Regions from separate parts of the Homo sapiens genome. Here regions 2, 3 and 4 are each linked to region 1. Evidence: promoter capture Hi-C in human tissues and cell types (Jung and others, 2019). All regions are on one chromosome and are shown on one strand. Each heading gives the region's core, a stretch centred on a gene start or on the middle of the fragment in contact. The rest is flanking DNA. Distances are from core to core; before and after follow the strand shown. Region 1 holds the start of SRL (sarcalumenin). Region 2 overlaps CREBBP (CREB binding lysine acetyltransferase). Region 3 overlaps CREBBP (CREB binding lysine acetyltransferase). Region 4 has its middle 30 kb from the start of CREBBP.

Region 1 (3,121 bases), core at 159-2,658:
AAAGATAAAGGATGTCCCTAAAAGGCCAAAAATTCCTGGGGCCCAGTGTGTAGCAGCCCAGCAGCTGGGGCTGGGGGGCAGCACAGGAGCGGCCACGAAGGGAGAGGGTGGCAGCGGCTTGGGGCTCCGGATCCAATTACGCGGCTGTTTCCATACTTAGCCGCCTGACAGCCGCCTGGAATACTCAGCACTCAAGCCGCTGCAGCCCTGCAGAGCCCAAATTAACTCAAGGACAGACAAGGGCAGGGCCCAGCAGCACATGCAGTGGCTGGAGCCCCCCACCTTACATCTTGAGTCCCCGAGAAATAGCTTTTGTTCCCACCCACTGCCTGCTCTCCCTGCAGGGACTGTGCCCCTGCAACCCCCTATTCAACCTCAAAGACCTGAGAGGCTGGACTCTGGGCCTCTCCAGTCCCAGGTACGGACCTAGGCTCAGAGCCCAGCTTGGGGGAAGACTGCCGAGTCATGAAAAGACTCGGTGGGCAGTCCGGATCCTAGGGGGATCCCCGGAGCACCTCCCTAAAAGCATTCCCTCGGGGAACCTGGCCTCAGGAACCTTAGGAACAAGAGAGGTGGCAAAACAATCTGGCATCTCCTCCATAGCCTATAGATAACCCCCATGCTGCAACCCAAGCCACCACCTCTGCTACCCAAAGTGCTGAGATGTCAAAGGGAAGCCTCAGCACACAGAGCCAAGCCCCTTTTCTGATGGAAGCCCCCACCCCGAGCAGAGGCTCTACTCCAGAACGGGCCCCGTTCCTCTTCTGAATTGCATCCAATGCTGTTTCCAGCCCAACCGCCAACTCTATTTCCGATCTTATCCCAAACCAATTCCAATTCTATCTCACTGCTCCCAAAACGGTCCCCACCTTTGCCCACTGTATCCCCTTCTGTCCACGCAAACCCAGTTCTCTTACCCGAGTGGGGCCTCCGCCTTATATCCCACCAGGTGGGAGGGTCACCTCAACGACCTCCAGCTCCCAGACTGTGCTATTTTGTCCGTCTCAGAGGCTCCCCCGTCTCGACTTTGAGGGCCCTCTTTCCCACATCTACTGGCCAGACTCCTCTCTGACCCTGGCTCACAGCTCAGCTCTGTTTGCCGTTCCCACTTCCTCTGGCCTTCCTGAGGGCCCCGCAACTGTGCTGCTATTCTCCAGCACCCAGCTCTTTCTCTGAGGCCCCAGGCCCGGGGAAAAGAGAAGGGTAAGAAGACACCAGCCAAGAGCCAGGGTTTGCCATCAGCCCCGACCCCCTACCCAACCCATGGTAGACAGAAAACCTTGGAGGAAGCGTGGGGGACCAGTCTGGGCTGGGTCATGCTGGGAGGGGCCCTACCTGCTTGTCCTGAGAACAGGAGCGAGGCCAGGAGGCAGCCGAGCAGGACCAGCGCCCTCATGGTGACTGCCAAGAGAGCCCAGCTGCTCCTCGCCTCTATTTATACGGCCGGCCGTGGCAGCAGGCGGTGGAGGGGGGAGAGGGGTCACACAGTCACCAGGGCAACTAGGAGGGTGTGATGGGGAAGAAGCCCGGACCCCAGAAGGCTGTGCAGAGGCTCAGGCTGCGCCACTGCTGTCCCAGCTGCCAGGCCCCAGAAGGCAGGGCCGTGGCTGGATTCTCTTCCCCCGAACCCCTGCAGCCCTGGGATCACATGACATGGGTCACAGGGCGTGGGTGACAGGCATAAAATGGAGCATCCCTTGGGCTCAGGCGGTGGAGCTGGGAAGCTGAGTCTTCCCAGAACTTGCAATAACTTGACCTGAAGTCTCGGCAGGTTAAGGACCTTGACACGCCTGCACTGGAAGGAGGAAGTTGTAAGGCCACGCAAAAGAAATCCTATTTAACAGCCACTGATCCACATGCTAGAGAGTGGTCAGCTACGGCAAACCCGCAACATGTGACCTCTGAGGTCCAAGGCTGCAGCCCTGGAACAACCTTCCCAGCCTCTGGAAGAGAGAGAGCACAGACCAGAGGGAGAGGGGCACACTGAGACACAAGCTGAGGCTACGGTGTAAACTGGAGGATGGAGCAACAGATATCCATTTCCAATGGCCCAGGGGTTCCAGAACATTCAGTCACCTCTGCAAAGTGCTTTTTTGTTTATTTGTTTTTGATAGAGGATCTCGCTCTGTCACCCAGGCTGGACTGCAGTGGCACAATCATCACTCACTGCACTCGACCTCCCAGGCTCAATCAATCCTCCCAACTCAGCCTCCCAAGTAGCTAGGACAGTAGTGCCACCATGCTGTACTAATTTTTTAAAATTTTTTGTAGATGGCCCAGAGAGCCAGTTGTAAGAAGCCAAGGGAAAGCAGACACTTGCTTGTCTGGTCGGGGTACAGTGTCACTGTGTGGGGAAGAGGTAGAAGCCAGCCTTGGAGGAAAGGAACTAAATCAGGGCCAGGCACAGTGGCTCACACCTGTAATCCCAGCACTTTGGGAGGCCGAGGCGGGTGGATCACCTGAGGTCAGGAGATTGAGACCAGCCTGGCCAACATGGTGAAACCCCATCTCCACTAAAAATACAAAAATTACTGGGTGTGGTGGCGGGTGCCTATAATCCCAGCTCCTCAGGAGGCTGAGGCAGGAGAATCACTTGATCCCAGGAGGCGAAGGTTGCCATGAGCCAAGATTGCACCACTGACTCTAGCCTGGGCAACAGAGCGAGACTCTGTCTCAAAAAAAAAAAAAAAAAAAAAAAGAATTAGGCATCTGGTAGGCACTTGACTTTTTTTTTTTTTTTAATCTTTTTTAAGAGACAGGGTCTCTGTCACCCTGGCTGGAGTAGTGACACGATCATAGCTCACTGCAGCCTTGAACTCCTGGGCTCAAGCCACCCTCTCACCTCAACCTCCGAGGGGCTGGGAATACAGGTGTGCACCACATCTGGCTAATTTTTTTGTTTTTTGCAAACATGGTCTTCCTATGTCACTCGGGCTGGTCTCCAACTCCTGGGCTCAAGCAATCTTCCTGTCTCGACCTCCCAAAGCACTACGATTACAGGCATGAGCTACTGCTTTTTCAAAGACAAGGTCTTGGGACTTTTCCTCTTGGAAGTCCCCTCTCTCTCACTAAGGAGCTGTTTTTCTTTCTCTTTCTTTTGCCTGTTAAACCTCTGCTCCTA
Region 2 (3,121 bases), core at 418-2,917, 410 kb before region 1:
TTATAGTCTTAAGGGGCCACTGTTGTATATGTAGTCTGCTGCTGACCAAAATTCGTTATGTAGCACATTACTGTGGAAGCATAAATCCTGAACAATATTTTAATAAATCTGATCCAGTAACATATAAAAAAGATAACACTCCACAATCAAGTGGGGTTATCTCACAGGAATGCAAGGCTGGTTCAACACTCAGAAAGACGTAATTCACATTCAAAGAAAAAAAAAACACCCTATGATTCATCTCAATAAATGAAAAAAGATGTGGCAAAATTCAGTAATCGCTTATGATCAAAAGACTCAGCAAACTAGAAACAGAATTCCTCATCCTAATGAATGATACCTAAAGCCTACAACTAACATTATACTTAACGAAAGGCTGAATGCTTTTTTCCCACAGATCATGAATAAGACAAGGGAAGAACACTGTCATTGGTTTTATTAAACATTGTGCTGGCCAGGCACGGTGGCTCACACCTATAATCCCAGCACTTTGGGAGGCTGAGATGGGCGGACCACCTGAGGTGAGGAGTTCGAGACCAGCCTGACCAACATGGTGAAACCCCGTATCTACTAAAAATACAAAATTAGCTGGGTGTGGTGGCGCAAGCCTGTAGTCCCAGTTACTCAGGAGGCTGAGGCACGAGAATCGCTTGAGCCCCAGAGGTGGAGGTTGCAGTGAGGCGAGATAGCACCACTGCACTTCAGCTTGGGCTACAGAGTGAGAGTCCATCTCAAAAGAAACCCAAAACAAACAAACAAAACATTGTACTAGAGGTCCTAGGCAGAACATTAAAGCCAGAAAAATGAATAAAATGCATACAGATGAAAAAGGAAGAAGCAAGCTATTTTTATTCTCAGACAACATGTCCCAGAAAATTCTAAGACATCTTATAGAATTAATAAGTGAGTTTAGCAGGGTTACAAGATACAACATTAATACAGAAACATTTATTATACTTCTCCATACTAGCAACAAATAATGGTGTAAAACCTAGGAATTAAACAGAAATGAAAACGAGAAACTAAGCAACCTGACTTTAATACTTACTGTAAAGCTAAAGTACAACTATGAAAGTTTCATCTATGAAACTTTTGTGATTGATAAAATTGACTTCATTAAAATTAAAACTGCCCCTTCAAAGATAATGTCAAGAGAATGAGAAGACAATCCACAGACTGGGAGAAAATATGTGCAAGAAACACATCTGATAAAGATCTATTTACAAAAATATATAAAGAACTCTCAAAACTCAACAATAACAACCTGTTTAAAAAATGGGCCAAAGACCTTAACATACACCTCATCAAAGAAGACACACAGATGGCAAATAAGCGTATGAAAAGATGACCCACATCTTATCACAGAAATGCAAATGACAACAATGGGATACCACTATTTGCCTATTAGAACAGCCAAATCCAGAACACTGTCAACACGAAATGCTGGCGAGGATGTAGTGCAACAGGAACTCTCATTCATCACTGGTGGGAATGTAAAATGATATAGACACTTTGGAAGACATTTTTGCAGTTTCTCACAAAACTAAGCATACTCTTACCATATGATCCAGCAATTGTGCTCACTGGTATTTACCCAAAACAGGTAAAAACTTAAACCTGCACATGGATGTATATGGCAGCTTTATTCATAATTGCCAAAACTTGGAAGCAACCATGAAGTCTTTCAGTAGGTAAAGGGATAATTGCCATGAAAAGACCCAGAGGAACCTTAAATACATATTATTAAATGAATGAGGCCAATGAGAAAAGGCTACACACTGTGTGACTGTAACTTTACAAAAAGGCAAAACTATGGAGACAATCAGTGGTTGCCAGGGTTTTGGGAAGGAGAGAGGGATGAAGAGGTGAAACACAGACGGCTTTTAGGGCAGTGAAAATACTCTGCATGACACTACAATGATGCACATCATTATACATTTGTCCAAGTCCACAGAATGTACAACACCAAGAGTGAACCCTAGTGTAAACTACAGACTTCGGATTATGATGTATCAATATAGGTTTATTGATTGTGACAAACTGTACCATTCTAGACAGCGGAGTTGGGGAGGATGTTGAAAATGGAGGAGACTATGAACTAGGAGAACAGGGAATAGATGGAAAATCTCTGTACCTTCATTTCATTGTGAAGCTCAAACTACTCTAAAAAAACCCAAAATCTTTAAAAGCTTTTCTTGGGCCAGGCGCAGTGGCTCACGCCTGTAATCCCAGCACTTTGGGAGGCCGAGGCGGGCGGATCACGAGGTCACGAGATCGAGACCATCCTGGCTAACACGGTGAAACCCCGTCTCTAGTAAAAATACAAAAAATTGGCCGGGCATGGTGGCAGGCGCCTGTAGTTCCAGCTACTAAGGGAGGCTGAGGCAGGAGAATGGCATGAACCCGGGAGGTGGAGGTTGCAGTGAGCCGAGACCACGCCACTGCACTCCGGCCTGGGCAAAAGAGCGAGACTCCTTCTCCAAAACAAAACAAAACAAACAAACAAAAAAGCTTTTCTTAAAAAACAAACTAAATGAATAGAAAAATAGATCAATAGAACAGACTAGAACAAAGGTACAGGGATTTTTTTTTTCTATGAAGGGCCAGTTAATAAATAATTTAGTCTTTGCAGATGACCTGCGGTTTCCATCCCAGATTGTTTTCTTTTTAAACAATCCTTAAAAAATATAAAACCCATCCTTACGTGGCAAGCCATATAAAAACAGGTCATGGGGCTGGATGTGGTTCATGGGCTATAGTTTGCCCTTAGACTACAGAGTCCAGAAACAGACACCTCCTTGTACAGTGAATTTCGTTGCTAGTTATTTATCTAAGAGAAATGAAAACTTCTATGCCCACAAAAAAAGCTGTACAAAAATGCTCACAGAAGATTTCTTCTTTTTTTTTTTTTTTTTTTTTGAGACGGAGTCTTGCTCTGTCGCCTAGGCTGGAGTGCAGTAGTGGGATCTCGGGTCACTGCAAGCTCCGCCTCCCAGGTTCACGCCATTCTCCTGCCTCAGCCTCCCGAGTAGCTGGGACTACAGGCGCCTGGCACCACACCTGGCTGATTTTTTGTATTTTTAGTAGAGATGGGGGTTTCACCACGTTAGCCAGGATGGTC
Region 3 (3,121 bases), core at 264-2,763, 380 kb before region 1:
TTCTGTCTCAAAACAAAAACAAAAACAAAAAACCCTAGACAGTCCTTATTCAAAGTTCTTTGTCACCTGGGACCCTAAACTGTCCTGGAAATGCAGCCAAGTCTATTTTTATTTGGTGCACTTAGCAGTCACAGGGAAGTGCCATTCCCAGACAGCCAAGACAACGTTAGTTTCCTCAACATGGTTTGCGTGCTGCTTCCCTCAGCCCTGAAGGGTGGGGACAAGGGTGGAATGGAAGGTGCCTGTCATAGCAGCCAGCTGCCACCAGAACACAGTAATGACCCAGCAGCCCCTGCACGTTAGCCCAATCATCTGGGACAGGGGAGCAAAAACGGGTTGTTTACCACCACCACAGCTGAGAGGGGCACCAGACCCCGGAGAGGTGCTACAGTCAGCTGCCTATCCACCCTGCTTACAGGGAGAGGATTCTCCAGCCAAGAACAGTCCTGGAGGAAGAAGAATGTGGGGGCTGAGCTAGGAGCTAGCCTTTGCAGAAGCAGCCCCAGACCCCAGATTCCCAGCCACCTCAGATTCCCCAGCCATATTGTAAGAACAAGCAAACAGACATCCAGAGACCAGGTCCTTTGCCCCAAATGCTGTGAGATGTAGCTGGCAGGCGGCAACAAGAAGTCAAGAAAGGGGGAAAGAGCATATTCCAGACGTGAAAGCAGACTTGGAAGTGCCAGTCCATGTACAACGCGTGGAGGCGTGTGGGCTATTTGAGAGCCACAAACAGAAAATGAATGCCTTAAGTCCAAAAAGTATGCCAGTACCAGGTATGTTGGCTCACACCTATAATCCTGGCACTTTGGGAAGCCGAGGCAGGGGGACTGCTTGGGTCCAGTAGTTCAAGACCAGCCTGGGCAACATAGCGAAACCCGGTCTCTACAAAAAAAAGTACAAAAATTAGCCAGGCATGGTGGCACATGCCCATAGTCCTAGCTGCTCAGGAGGCTGAGGTGGGAGGACTGCTTGAGCCCAGGAGATGGAGGCTACAGTGAGTCAAGATCACGTCACTGCACTCCATCCTGGGTGACAGAGTGAGACCCTGACTCAAAATAATAATAAAAAGGTACACCATAAAATGAGAGAATTCAGAAACAACTGAGAAGCACAACATGATGGAGAATCACAAGCTGAAGAACAACCTTAGTGTTACTCATCATAGACTATGCTGATAAAGAATATCCGTGGCTGGGCATGGTGGTTCACACCTGTAATCCCAGCACTGTGGGAGGCCAAGGCAGGCAGGTCACCTGAGGTCAGGCGTTCGAGGCCAGCCTGGCCAACATGGCAAAACCCCTCCTTTACTAAAAATACAAAAATTAGCGGGGCATGGTAGTGCATGCCTGTAATCCCAGGAGGCTGAGGCACCAGAATCACTTGAATCTGAGAGGTGGAGGCTGCAGTGAGCCAAGATCGTGCCAATGCACTCCAGCCTGGGCGACAAAGCAAGACTCTGTCTCAAAAAAAAAAAGAATATCTGCAACACATCTAGCAATGTATACCTGGAGAATATATGTGCTGCCTTTCACATTTTAAGACTCTACCAACACACAGGCTCTTGAAGGAAAATTTGCTATGATCAAAACTATAAATGCATATGCCTTTTAACCACTAATTCTATTTCTATGAATCTGTTCCATAGATTTGCCTGTCCGCATAACTTTACAAGGCTATTCATTAAAGCACTGTTTGTGAGAAGACAAGACTGGAAATAACCTAAATGTCCACCAGTGGGGAGAGGATTAAAGCAATTATGGCACAGGTCACATAATGGAATGGTAGACAACTGTAAGAAGACAATAAACGTATGCAGCTGTGTGTACACTATGCTACCTCAGTTAAGAAGAAAAAGGCAGGAAGGGGGAAGAGAGAACTAAGAGTCAACAGCGTCTGCCTGAATACAGATAAACCCTGGAAGACAGCACTACTTCCAGTGGTTACCTGGGAGGAGCTAGGTGGAGGGAGGCTCTCTCTACAGGTTTTGTCCTCTGAGTTTTCTGAGCCATGTGAATGAACTACTAGTTTAAGTAATTAAAGGAACTAATTTTTTTTTTTTTTGAGATGGAGTCTTGATCTGTCGCCCAGGCTGGAATGTAGTGGCGCGACCTCAGCTCACTGCAACCTCCACCTTCTGGGTTCAAGCAATTCTCCTGCCTCAGCCTCCTGAGTGGCTGGGACTACAGGTGCACGCCATCACACCCGGCTAATTTTTGTATTTTAGTAGAGACGGGGTTTCACCATGTTGGCCAGGACGGTCTCGATATCCTGACCTCATGATCCATCAACTCAGCCTTCCAAAGTGCAGGGATTACAGGCGTGAGCCCACCGCGCCCGGCCAAGAAACTGATTTTTTTTTAAGGCACCCCCACTGGGGATATACTGGCCCAGGTGATTAACTTCAGCACCAGGTGGTAACACCTGGAATGGTTCCCAGTGCTCCAGTTTCCAGTTAGGGTCCTTATGATTTGAGGATAAAATGTGAAATGGGTTCACTATTAGTTCAAAATATATTTAGTGTACAAATAAGCTTAAAAGGCTAGAAAAGAAAAGGGCACTTTAAAGAAGAACTTTTCGAAAGTATTTTTTTCTAAAGGGATGTGACAATCGACATGTAACATTTTGTACCCAACGCTCACACAGGGAAATCTGACATTATTTCAAAATACTCAAAAATTAGTTGGCTGTCATGTCTTGTGGCTTCTAGCAAATCAATGAAGAAACCTCTAATATAAAGATGATGTTAAAAATGGAGCTTGTGACAAAGCAAGTGATGATCAGACGCCACACTAAAACACAATCCATTTTCCTATCTCTGGATGGCGCCTCTTAGGGGTAATTTGTACTTTGTTCAAATAATTCTCATTAGAGGTCTAAAGGTTTTGCAACAGGAATTAACTAAAACTTTGCTTCTCACCATTTAACAGATTCTCTTAATCACAAATATAAAAATAAAACAATACAAAAACATATATACCCCCAAAATGTTTTGTTTTGAATTTTTTTAACTAGTTTTTCTTTTTTCACTATGAAAGTAAATACATTTATGGTTTTTTGCTTTGTTTGAAAAAAAACCCTCAGAATATAAAATGAAAAACAGCCCCCAAAACATCTCTAG
Region 4 (3,121 bases), core at 360-2,859, 330 kb before region 1:
CCTGTCTTTGGCAGTAGCCGCCCTTGTATTCTTTTTTTCTTTTCTTTTCTTTTCTTTCTTTTTTTTTTTTTTCTGAGACATAGTCTTGCTCTGTTGCCCAGGCTAGAGTGCAGGGGTACCATCTCGGTTCACAGTAACCTCTGCCTCCCGGGTTCAGGTGATTCTCCTGCCTCAGCCTGCTGAGGAGCGTGCCACTACACCTGGCTAGTTTTTGTATTTTTAGCAGAGACAGGGTTTCACCATGTTGGCCAGGCTGGTTTTGAACTCCTGACCTCAGGTGATCCACCCACCCCAGCCTTCCAAATTGCTGGGATTATAGGTGTGAGCCACTGTGCCTGGCCGCCTTGTATTCTTTTTTGCAGCTGCCAAAACAAATGACCACAAACTGGGTGGCTTAATCCACAGAAATTTATTCTTATACAGTTCTGGAGGGCTGAGGTCCAAAATCAAGGTGTGAGCAGGCCACGCCGCCTGCAGAGGCTCTAGAGGAGGGTCTGTCCTGCCTCTCCCAGCTCCAGGCCTTCCTGGGCTTGTGGCTGCATCTCTCCAGTCTGCCTCCGTCTTCACATGGCCTTCTCCTCGGAGTCTCTGTATCTGTCCTTCTCTTCTAAGGACTTGTCATAGGGCCCACTGTAATCCAGGATGATCTCATCGCGAGAGCCTCAGCTTAATCACATCTGCAAAGATCCTTACTCCAATAGGATCGCATCCTGGAGGTTCCAGGTGGACGTATCTTTTAGGGGAGGCCGCAACTGAGCCCTCGGCCGCAGTCCAGGCTTCTGTTTCTATGGCAACACTAAGAGCAACCGGTGAGCTCCAGGAAGGGCGGGGTCTTGGTTGCATTTGTCTCTGGGCCTCCAGGAGTTCCTCAGAAAGGGTGGCAACATGAATAGTCCCATCTGCCACCGCCGTGAACTGTCCTCTCTTGATGGTGCTGAGAGCAACATGCAGTGTGCAGGGAAGACGCAGACCCCACCCCCACACCAGCACCCCCAGTGCTGCAGCCAAAGGAGTTTCCAGCTCGGCCCTGCCCCTCTAGGGTGAGCAGGTGAGCAGGCCAGCTTAGGAGAGAAAGGAGGCCTGATGGCTTGGTTGGATGTCTTTTGAAACTTTTCTTTTTTTAAGACAGAGTCTTGCTCTCTTGCTCAGGCTGGATTGTAGTGGCTCAATCACGGCTCACTGAAGCTTCAACCTTCTAGGCTCAAGCAATCCTCCCACATCAGCCTCCTAGTGGCTGGGACTAGAGGCATGCACCACCACATCTGGCTAATTAAAAACAAACAAACAAACAAACAAACAAACAAAAAAACCCTGTAGAGATGGGGTCTCACTGTGATGCCCAGGCTGGTCTCAAACTCCTGGGCTCAAGTGATCCTCCAGCCTTGACCTCCCAAAGCACTGGGATTACAGTTGTGAGCTACCACATCTGGCGGTCTTTTGAAACTTTCTACCGAGGATAAAGAGTAACTATTTTCCACCAGGGAAGCTGTCAAGGTTGAAGTTTTAAGGGCTTCTGTGTGGGCCAAGCCAGTCACAGGTACCTTCCCAGGAATGTAGGGCCCTGAGATATCAACTGGGAGACAACATGTATGAGTCAGTATTCTCCAGAGAAACAGAGCCAATGGGATGTGTATAGATACACAGAAAGAGGTTGAGTATGAGGAACTGGCTCACATGGTTACGGAGGCAGAGAAGTCCCAAGATTTTCCATCTGCACGCTGGAGGTGTGGTTCCAATCCAAACTCAAATGACTGGGAATTGCGGGGCCCATGGGTTAAGTCCTTGTCTGAGTCCAAAGGCCTGAGAACCAGAAGCGCCAATGTCAGAGAGCAGGAAAAGAAGGATGTCCCAGTTGGAGCCGAAAGAATTCACCCCTCCTCAGCCTTTTTGTGCTATTCAGGATTGTACCTGCCCACCTGCATTGGTGAGGGTGATCTTCTATATTGAGTCTGCTCCAATTCAAATGCTAAGCTCTGCCGGACTCAGTGGCTCACACCTGTAATCCCAGCCCTTTGGGAGGCGGAGTTGGGCAGATCACTTGAGGCCAGGAGTTTGAGACCAGTCCAGCCGACATGGTGAAACTCCATTTCTACTAAAAATACAAAAATTAGGTGGGCATGGTGGCATGTGCCTGTGGTCCAGCTATCCAGGAGGCTGAGGCACAAGAATCACTTGAGCCTGGGAGGCAGAGGTTGCAGCGAGATGAGATTGTGCCACTGCACTCCAGCCTGGGTGACAGAGCAAGACTCTGTCTCAAAAAAAAAAAAAAAAAAAACATTTAGCTGGATGTGATGGCTCACACTTGTAGTCCCAGCTACTTGGGAGGCTGAAGTTGGAGGATCACTTGAGCTCGGGAGGTCGAGGCTGCAGTGAGCTGTGATTGCATCACTGCACTCAAGCCTCGGCAACAGATCAAGACTCTGTCTCTCAAGTCAAATCAGGCTGGGTGCGGCGGCTCATGCCTGTAATCCCAGCACTTTGGGAGGTGGAGGTGGGCAGATCACCTCAGGTCAGGAGTTCAAGACCAGCCTGGCCAACATGGTGAAACCCCATCTCTCCAAAAATACAAAACTTAGCTGGACGTGGTGCTGAGTGCCTATAATCCCAACTACTTGGGAGGCTGAAGCAGGAGAATCACTTGAACCCAGGAGGGGGAGGTTACAGTGAGCCAAGATCACACATGTGACAGAGCAAGATTCCGTCTCAAAAAACAAAAGTCAAACCAAATCAAATCAAAAGGCAGCAACTGAGAAAGACATTCATCTTCAAGGAAGATGCAGGTGGCTGCTGAGAGAGAGGCGGGTTTCGGCACGTGGCCATGTGTGCCTACTCATGGAAGTTCCCCAGAAGACCTTTGTTCGTGGAAGTGATGAGGCTGTGATTCCATTTGTGTGGCGCTTTCTCTCTTTGCCCCATGCCCCCCTCTCCCCTCTGTGATGTCCATGGGCAACGGGGGGCCTTGGAAGAACCTGGGAATGAGGCTGAGTCCCAGCCTGGAGCCTGCATCTCATTGCCTGTAGAGCGAGGCCGCTCTCGTCACCTCCTGCCAGTTGTCATGAGGCTCAGATGAGGTGATGGGGAGAGAGGATGCAGCACAGCAAACTGGGCTTTCGACCCGGGA

Evidence for each region. The method cuts DNA at HindIII sites, captures the fragments that hold promoters and counts their contacts. A contact is called where the count stands out against the background at its distance.
Region 2: a contact is called between a fragment that was not itself captured here and the fragment with the promoter of SRL in region 1, in 2 of the 25 tissues and cell types used here (H1 embryonic stem cells and IMR-90 fibroblasts).
Region 3: a fragment that was not itself captured here is called in contact with the fragment with the promoter of SRL in region 1 in 1 of the 25 tissues and cell types used here (mesendoderm cells).
Region 4: a fragment that was not itself captured here is called in contact with the fragment with the promoter of SRL in region 1 in 1 of the 25 tissues and cell types used here (lymphoblastoid cells).

Annotation. Positions count from the first base shown.
Region 1 is chr16:4,240,672-4,243,792 of GRCh38, forward strand. It overlaps SRL (sarcalumenin), which reads right to left and starts at 1,409. Exons shown (of 6, transcript NM_001098814.2): 1 at 1,336-1,409. The coding sequence starts at 1,396. The HindIII fragment of the contact is 19,223 bases long and covers 1-3,121 here.
Region 2 is chr16:3,832,679-3,835,799 of GRCh38, forward strand. The region is part of intron 2 of CREBBP (CREB binding lysine acetyltransferase); the gene reads right to left. Among named protein-coding and RNA genes, the nearest start is that of CREBBP, 46 kb to the right of the region's middle. The HindIII fragment of the contact is 4,169 bases long and covers 1-3,121 here.
Region 3 is chr16:3,863,593-3,866,713 of GRCh38, forward strand. All of the region lies in intron 1 of CREBBP (CREB binding lysine acetyltransferase), which reads right to left. Among named protein-coding and RNA genes, the nearest start is that of CREBBP, 16 kb to the right of the region's middle. The HindIII fragment of the contact is 4,434 bases long and covers 1-3,121 here.
Region 4 is chr16:3,909,492-3,912,612 of GRCh38, forward strand. No RefSeq gene overlaps it. Among named protein-coding and RNA genes, the nearest start is that of CREBBP, 30 kb to the left of the region's middle. The HindIII fragment of the contact is 3,545 bases long and covers 1-3,121 here.